Linked DNA regions of Homo sapiens: region 2 is linked to region 1. The links are contacts of gene promoters, found by promoter capture Hi-C in blood cells and fetal thymus (Javierre and others, 2016). All regions are on one chromosome and are shown on one strand. The core of a region is centred on a gene start or on the middle of the fragment in contact, and the rest is flanking DNA. Distances in the headings are between cores, read along the strand shown.

Region 1 (4,164 bases), core at 1,665-4,164:
GAAAACCAGGGCTGCGATTCAGGCAAGTACAGAACATAACACTAATTGCCCATTAAGGGCTTGGAGAAAGAGTTTCACAAAGGAGACCTCAGAACAGAGAATACGGCAGAAGCAAATGAGCAGGGATGGAACTGTCAGAGGTGACATATGCGTACCATGTGAACACAAACAGCTTCCTTCCCTTACTTCACCCCCATTTACTCATCTGTAAGTCAAAGCTAATAATATCTACATCTTATTTATGAGTCACAAATTCTCCTGGCTGAAAAAAAGGCAAATAAGGTTTTCAAAGAGTTCTTATTGAGTGGGTAGAGGCTCAAATGCTCCAGGCCTTTTCCACATTAGCAGTGCACTTAGAGGGGGGAAAGAAAAGCTCGTTTTGGAATAAAGAGTAATAGGCCCTCCGTGAGTAATCACACACAAGCCTCTGAGACAGCTCCTATCCCCAACCAGCTAATCTCTGTTAGTGAATGTCACCGCAGTGCCACTGCCAGCACCATGCCTGAGTGACCGGGCTGCGTGGCATTCATGCTGGCTGCACTAGACAGAGCTGGGGAGACCCCGATTAACTCCCCAGAATATCCTGGGTACGGAGTGTGCATCGGGGCGAATCTTCTCTCCCATCCGCAAAACCAGGAGAGCAGACTGCACTAAGAACTCAGTGAGCCTGACAGAGGTTGTCTCAAAGGGGCGGCATGGCCAAGGGTTAGGCATTTTTATTCCCACAGATAGAAATTTCCGGGGAGAGTTACCTGTGCCTCTCTGCCTCTCTCTTGCAGTGTGAGCTCACAGCTCAATTTCAGCTCCATTCTGCTCATTTAATTTTAGAATCCCAAAACCCAGGCACTTTGTAATTTATCGCGTAGTTTAAGAGTCACTTTTAGCTGAAGACAAATTGCTGGGCCACCTGGGCACAGCAGCGAAGTGTGGCAGGAGCCAGGGGCACTACGCAAACATGAGGAACACCTTCTTCAGCCTGGACAATCAGCCAGGGAGAGTCAAGAACTACAGAGACAAACGAAGTCAGTGCTACCCGACGGCAAAATCTGAAATCACAGGATGTTTGGAGGGCCTTGAGTGGTTAAAAAAACTAAATATCTATATGGATATACATGTGCGTATATGTATGTGTGTATATGTGTATATATGTAACATTTTATATATATATATGCATATATTTAAAAGGTCTCCAAAGATGTGCTAGCATTCTTTCAGTAAACTCGAACCTGCCTTGTGAAGATTCCTTCATTCGAATGGTGGAATCCACCCCTCCAGCCACACACCTAATAGTACATCAACGTGGGGCTTGGGATGCAGAACTAATGTCATTTCTATCAATCAGGGACGCCACCACACCTTGCTGGCTTCTGCCACGGATAACGATGAAACTACATTTAACACTGCCTGGCACTAAGGTTTAGAGTTATGAGTCGGTGCTTCCCTGTCACTTCACTTAACCCTCTGAGTGTGTAGTTTGTAGATTTGTTAACTGCACTGAGAGGTCCCCTGGTGTGACCTCAAAATAACGGCCTCTCCAGGAGCCATAAACATGGATCAACCCCAACTCACCGCCCCTCAGCCCGGTAGCTGGTTGAGAGAGGAAAAAGGGACCCGCCGGGAGGTCCTTTGAGGGTAATGCCGCCTTTGTGCCCAGGGCGTGGCCTGCTTGCTCACTGACAGAAGAGGGGACAGCCGAGGGCTGCGGGGCTGGGAGGGCCCCGTGGGGGCCGGTGAGGGTCAGGCCCCGGTCCAGGCTCTGTGGCAACGCAGCATTAGATCTTTCCGACAACCCAGCGGTGTAGACATTGCCACTGACTGCAAAGGAGCTTGTCAGGGGAGCGACTTGCCAAAGGTCACACCGCTCGGCCATCAGAACCGCGGCAGAAGCCCCCACACAAAGCGCCCTCCCTCCGCTCCTGGAGAGGTTTTAAACCCAGGACCCCCGGCCCTGCGCTGTCCCAAGGCCTCTCCGACGGCGGCCGGGCTCCAGGGTGCAGGCTCCCGGCCATCTACCCCCGGGAGCCGCGGACACCGAGGGAGCGCGAGTCCCCGAGACGCCGGGCCACGCTCATGTCACCCAAGCAGCGGCCGCGGCCGCCTTGGCGCGCGCACCGGGTCCGGAGCTCGCGCCGCCCGTCGAGGGCAGAGGGGCCGCTCCCCCGCGGGGGAGAGCCGGGTGGGCGCCCAGGACCCAGCGGCGGACGGCGCGCGACGCCTGAGGCAGCCCAGACTCCCCCGGAGCCCGGCAGGTGTCCGCGCCGCCCCGGCTTCTGAGGCCACACTTCCGAGCGCGGGGTTGGGCGGCACTGCCGGGGGACTTGCGGTCGGCGCGCCGGACCTGCGTGGGCGCCCACGCGGGACCCCAGTCCCCCCCACCCCGCCGAGTGTCCCGCGCGCGCCCCCCCGGGCGACACCCCCCCCCGCAGGGCGCCCCGGCCGCCCGCCGTCCCCAAGCGGTCCCGGAGCCTTCCCACGCGCGCGCGGGGCCGGGGCCGGGCGGACAGGACTGCGGAGGCGCCCCCCTCGCGCGCGCCGGAGGCCGCCGGGAAAGTTTTGGGCGCGCGGGGCCGGCCGCACTCACCTGGCCCAAGTTGAGGTACCCGTGCGCCGCCGCCACGCGGTCCGCCTCGGCCGGGCCGCCCAGCACTTGCACCGCCCAGTGGTTGGTGTAGACGGGGCGCGGCGGGGGCGCGGAGCAGGCGGCAGGCAGCGCCAGCAGCAGCAGCCAGCGCCAGGGACGCGGCGCGAGCGGCCGGAACCCGGGCCCGCCGGCGCCCCCCGCGCCCCCCGCGCCCCCCGCGCCCGCGGCGGTGTCGGTGGCGGCGGCGGCCCGGGGCGGCGGCCGGGGCCCGGGCGCAGGCGGCGCGCGCGGAGGCATAGCGGCGACAGGCTCGCGCGGCGCCCGAGCTGCGAGTGCGCCGGGGGGTGGAGTGCCGCCTTTTAAAGCCGCTCCGCGCCGGGGAAGCGCCGCCGCCGCCGCCACCGCCGCCGCCAACACCGCCGCGGGCGGGAGCCGGGGAGGAGGAGGCGGCCGCGGCGCGTTCCCGCCCCCGGGCCCGCGCTCCTGCGACCGGGCTCCGGGGCCGAGAGCCGTCCGGGAGGCCCGAAACGCCCCCCACCGGGGGAACTTCCCCGCCGACTTCTGGGGCTCTCGGGACGCGGTGCCGCCCCAGAGGCGTCCTCGGCCCGCGAGTTCTGCTGGGAGCGGGGAGGCCCCGGCGTCTCAGGTGAGTCCCCGGTTCCCTAGACCGGCCGGACACCCGAAGGCCGCACTCACCTGGCGGGGGCCTCAGACGCCTGGCGGCCTCGCCCGCCTCCCTAGACGGAGGGCTCGCCCGTGTGCGGGGTCCCAGGGAGAAGAAGCTGCGGGGAAGACAGTGGGTCGCCCGGGACCAAGCCTGGCTGAAGGGACACATTGAGCGGGGCAAAGGCATGTGGCGCATCAGCCGGGCTCACGAGCGTGTACCCGAGAAACCACCGCACGGAGCCCATGGCGGAGGCCGCGGCCCATGCTGGGAGGCAGGCCGTGCAGGTGAACCCCCAGGCCGCGCAGGTGAACCCCCAGGCCGCGCAGGTGAACCCCCAGGCCGTGCAGGTGAACCCCCAGGCCGCGCAGGTGAACCCCCAGGCCGTGCAGGTGAACCCCCAGGCCGTCCGCTTAGCCTCGCTGCGATCTTGGGCAAATGACTGTGGTGGCTGAGGGCAGGCGCCCCACCTGCAAAATGCGGGGAACAGTGGCATCTACCCCGTCGGGCTGATTTGAGGATGAGGTCAGCTTTTGCTGTACAATAAGCTGTCCGTAAACGTTCGTTTTTATGAGCCCAGGGCCTGCCGTGTGGTAGGTGTTCACTAGACGATGTACACTCTTAAAAGCACCCACTGAGCTGGGACCAGCAGTAGAAAGTCAGCTGAATCATCCTCACCCCTGCTTCCTGGAGCAGCCTGGTATCCAGTGGATAATGATTTGAAGCACCCTGGAGATGGATGGAAATGTTCACACCATAATCAAGGAATTATGAAGGGTAAGGATCGCTGCTGGATCTCTTCTGTCATCCCTCCCAGGACCCATTGGTCCTACTGGCCCACTTCCAGAAAGCAAGCCATCAACCTGCTTAATATAGGAAGTAAAACAAAAAGGTCGAGAAGGCCTTGAGGTGGGAAGGA
Region 2 (4,407 bases), core at 1,731-4,230, 150 kb after region 1:
CTGTCATGTGATGTTATGCCAGAGTCAGGTTGGAAAGTAAGCCACATCACATAGGGTTAAATAAAACTGCTTTGAGATTTTATAAGGTGCAACTCCCCAGCCCCTTAGATAGGAATTTGGGCAAGAGGGAAAAAAGGTCAGAGTTTAGTCCTCAGTAGCTAACTGTAACTCCACCTCCTGGGCTCAAAGATCGCTCCCACCTCAGCTTCCCAAGTAGCTGGGACCACAGGCGCACACCTGCTTATTTTTATTTATTTTTTTTAGAGACAGGCGTAACTACGTTGCGCAGGCAGGTTAAGAATGCCTTTTATTATAGTCATTCTAGTGGGTGGTGAGTCATTTCATTTTGTTCTCATGTAAAAGGACAACTTCATAATATGTGAACAAATTCCCTTGGTTTTCTCTTCGAGCATTTTGCAAGTTGTATTTTGTGTTCTATTCTACATTCCGTGCCCTGATAGCTAGGAGTGAGGCAGGGAAAAGCTCAGCTGAGACTATATCTTTGCTAGAATATCTGGTCTCTGGTTTCTTGACTAGGATTTTCTAAATGTCCTGAATCAAAGTTTCCTCCCCAGGGAATGATGCAATGACCCCTGGGGGTCACCCCAGGCTTTGGATCCTTTATCTGGTTCAGCAGGGAACCCCTGAACCCATCAGAGTCCCTCCTGTTTGTTCACGAGCCCTCTCTCACTGGTCTCTTCCCAGCAGCCCTTTTCACTTCCCCCAGCAGTAACAGGAGAAAGATATAGATACCTCTCTTTCTCCGAATTAACCTGTTTTTCCTCACCAGTGAGACCCCCCCACCTTTTTTTTTTTTGGAGACAGAGTTTCGCTCTTGTTGCCCAGGCTGGAGTGCAATGGTATGATCTCGGCTCACAGCAGCCTCTGCCTCCCAGGTTCAAGCAATTCTCCTGCCTCAGCCTCCTGAGTAGCTGGGATTACAGGCACCTGCCACCACGCCCACCTAATTGTTTTGTATTTTTAGTAGAGACGGGGGTTTCACCATGTTGGCCAGGCTGGTCTCGAACTCCTAGCCTCAGGTGATCTGCCCGCCTCGGACTCTCAAAGTGCTGGGATTGCAGGTGTGAGCCACCACGTCTGGCCTCCAGTGAGACTTTCTGAGTTTTGTTGCGCCAGCAGGGCCATTTGCGGGAGTAATCTTACACACCTGAGCAATAATTTTTTTTCCCTGTATTCACAATTTTTTGACGTTTTTGGCATTTGGCTGTATCCTTTTGCTTGTTCGCTGTGGAGTTTTCATTTGTTTGCTGGTTTTGGGCAGGAAGGAGGTGCTGGCTTTTCCTACAGTGTGTTTATCATTTAAGTATTTGAGAAGGGAGATGCTGCAATCCAGCTGCACTCTACCACTTTAAAAATTCTCAGCAATACTTTTAGGTGTTTAGCTTACTCCCAGCAATTCCTCCTTACTCATTCATCAAACTCCTAGTCACTGTGCACCTGCTGCATGGCCGGCAGGGCTCTCAGAGCTGAGCTACAGCAGAGAACCAGAGCCCTGCCTTCGTGGAGCCTTAGTAAATTATGTCCACGTGTCTCCATCAAAGCGTATTTTGCATAAAAGTGTTGTGTTTATGGAAGACAATTTCAATACATTTAAAAGAATTTAAATCAAATTTGCCTAGGTTACAAAATTAACCAATAGGTCTAGTGCATAGCATCACTACAGTTATCATATTATAAATTTGCTAAGAGTAGATTTTAAGTGCTCTTACCATGAAAGAAACGCATACGATGTATATACAATAAAAGTTTAAAAAATGTGTCTACCCCCTAACATTCATGTGACACTTCATACTCTACCAAAAGGGCAGAACAGAGGGGAAGCTTTAGAGCAGGAGCGGAGGAATCTGCCTCCATTTTTCCTGGGTGTTTTTTTTTTTCCTTTTTATGCATATTCTACTTATGTAGTGCCTTCATTTTCAGGCTTTTTCAATGTTGTATTTGAGAAGCTGCATCAGGTACAGCTCATTTTCCACTCATTGCTTACAGGATGAATTAAAATCATTTGCATATTCCGTAGCTGATGATATATGCCCAAAATAAATGCAAGTCTGGCATAAGGCATTAAAAAAAAAGTACAGAGAAATGAAGTTGTGTGGCATAGAGAAGGTATTTTTACATTTTAAAATCTTGAAGCATAAGATCTTTGAAAAAATCTTTTTATACGCACCATAAACCAGTTGTTCCTCAGCAATTTGCAGAAATCAGATCAACATGGTGTTACAGACAAATATTTACTTGAAGCCAATTTCTATATATTATCTCCTTGCAGCCACCTCAACTGCCAGTCCCTGGAATTGTACACAGTCCCTTCAAAACCTTGAGGACACCCGTGGCATTAACTCAGCAAATAAATGAGAGCCTCTGTGTGCACGGCATTGTTCTAGGGACAATGGAGGGGGTAGACATAAATAACCCAGCACCTTCCCGTGAGGCATTACTGGGGTAAATGGAAGAGAGCTGACAAAGCAAGGTAGAGATTCTTAAGGGGAAATCATGACAGATGGCCTGCTGCAGTGATAAATTCTGAGTGTCTAGAGAACTATCAATAGAGGATGGTTGACTGATATGGTTCCCAACCTGTGTGAACAGGATGGCTATCTAATCATATCCCTGGGTCAGAGCCCATAGCTCACACATGATGGACTGAGTATTTGTGTCTTTTCCACCCCAAATTCACATGTGGAAATCCTCACCACTGTAATGATGGTATCAGGAGGTGGGACCTTTGGGAGGTGATCAGGTCATGAGGGTGGAGCTCTCAGGATTGGGATTAGTGCCCTTATAGAAGAGGCCCCAGAGAGATCTTCCCTGCCTCTACCATGTGAGGATGTGAGAAGATGTTATGAGGAAGAAGGCCCTCACCAGATACCAAATTTACCAGCACCTTCATCTTGGACTTTCTAGCTTCCAGAACTCTTAAGAAATAAATTTCTGTTGTTAAGCCACGCCGTTTATGGTATTGTTATAGCAATCCTGAAAATCTAAGACAGCAGAGGAATAGAACCTGAAGGTCAGACTCCAACATGGCATTTTGCTGCCAGCAGAGGCCCATGGGATTTGCTACAAGAGATTGCACCCACACTCCCTAGTGCCCTTTGAAAGTATAGTTTTACTTTGCAGTTTCTTTTTGGGGCTGTGTATGAGTTCATCGTTCATAAATTTGTTTGTACTATTTGAAAATCTCTTCGTATTTCCTGCTAGTTCTGTCTCAGGCCATCAGCTCTATCAAAGTCCTTGATCTGAAGCATTCCTGACTGGCTTACATCCTTCAGGTTCCAAGGGCTATGCCCTTGTGCAAACTTTTTAGGATTTGGGAACAAGTTCATTTATGCCTCCTTTCATGGATTCTGAATCTTTGAGCTTTACTCTCAGACACTGCAGCTTCATTATCTAATTCAGGCCCCAGAGCCACAAAAATGGTTAATCAAGGATGCTGTTACCTATTTCCACCAAGGGCAATGCATACTTCCTACTAACTTCCCACCGACTCCCTGGTTCCACCTTGCATGGTTGCTCAACAGGGAAGTATTAGATTCTCTTCTACACAGAGCTACATAAGGAGACTCAGGAGACATTTTTATTATAGTTAGCAAAGGGGCTACTTCTTGAAGAAAAGATCGTCTTCTAAAGAAACACCTGCTCAATCAACAGTTTAACGGATACAAAAAGTGTGTCTTTGCTCTCAGAAAGAAAGGTCCACATAAACCGGGTTACTCCCATCCTGAAGAACTGCTCATGCTCTGTGACAAGTTCCTCGTAAACAAAACAAAACAAAACCAGTTTTTTTTTCTGTTTCTGGAACTAGAATGGGGAAGCAAATGTAATGGGGATGCGCCACCTAGCGACGAGAGATGGAACTGTCACTCAACTAAGAAAAGGACTGTGCTTTAAACAGCAGCAAGTGATCACTGAAACCTTTCAGGTAAACTGAAATCAATAAATCATCTGCTGAATGAAATATGCAGATATTTTATAGCTTCTAGATATGATATGGTGGTTAACAGTCTTCTGGATAATACACACAAGTGTTTAAAAAGCAGTAACTCAGATACCCACATTTGAAAGAAAAAATGCTAAGTTTTTAAATGTTTCAAAAGCAAGCTTGAGTAAAAATCTTTTTGAATAACTGAGTTTTTTTTCCCCGATAAAGGGTCTATAACAGATCTATACTCAAAAACATTTATATATTTCCACTGTGTCAATAAACCAGCCAATTATGACTCTGTTAGAATGGAGTAATGCCCTGAAAGATAAAAATGTTATTCTTAACAATAAAGGTAAGTTGTAATGATTATTCAAGATTATATTTAATATAGAAAACAGGCCCACAGTATTTCTTAACTTGCAATTTTATTAATTTTTCAGTACTCTTACCTTTTATATACT

Evidence for each region. The method cuts DNA at HindIII sites, captures the fragments that hold promoters and counts their contacts. A CHiCAGO score of 5 or more calls a contact.
Region 2: a fragment that was not itself captured here is called in contact with the fragment with the promoter of PCSK6 in region 1 in 1 of 17 cell types (megakaryocytes); the score reaches 5.7 in megakaryocytes.

The regions. Positions count from the first base shown.
Region 1 is chr15:101,486,793-101,490,956 of GRCh38, forward strand. PCSK6 (proprotein convertase subtilisin/kexin type 6) reads right to left here and starts at 2,915. Exons shown (of 22, transcript NM_002570.5): 1 at 2,582-2,915. The coding sequence starts at 2,878. It overlaps LOC124903566, which reads right to left and starts at 2,361. Exons shown (of 2, transcript XM_047433427.1): 1 at 1-2,361. LOC107987228 (a long non-coding RNA gene) reads left to right here and starts at 2,975. Exons shown (of 2, transcript XR_001751730.2): 1 at 2,975-3,532; 2 at 3,596-4,164. The HindIII fragment of the contact is 36,171 bases long and covers 1-4,164 here.
Region 2 is chr15:101,637,494-101,641,900 of GRCh38, forward strand. It overlaps TM2D3 (TM2 domain containing 3), which reads right to left. Exons shown (of 6, transcript NM_078474.3): 6 at 4,355-4,407. Among named protein-coding and RNA genes, the nearest start is that of TM2D3, 13 kb to the right of the region's middle. RefSeq lists a silencer at 3,790-3,949. The HindIII fragment of the contact is 2,280 bases long and covers 1,841-4,120 here.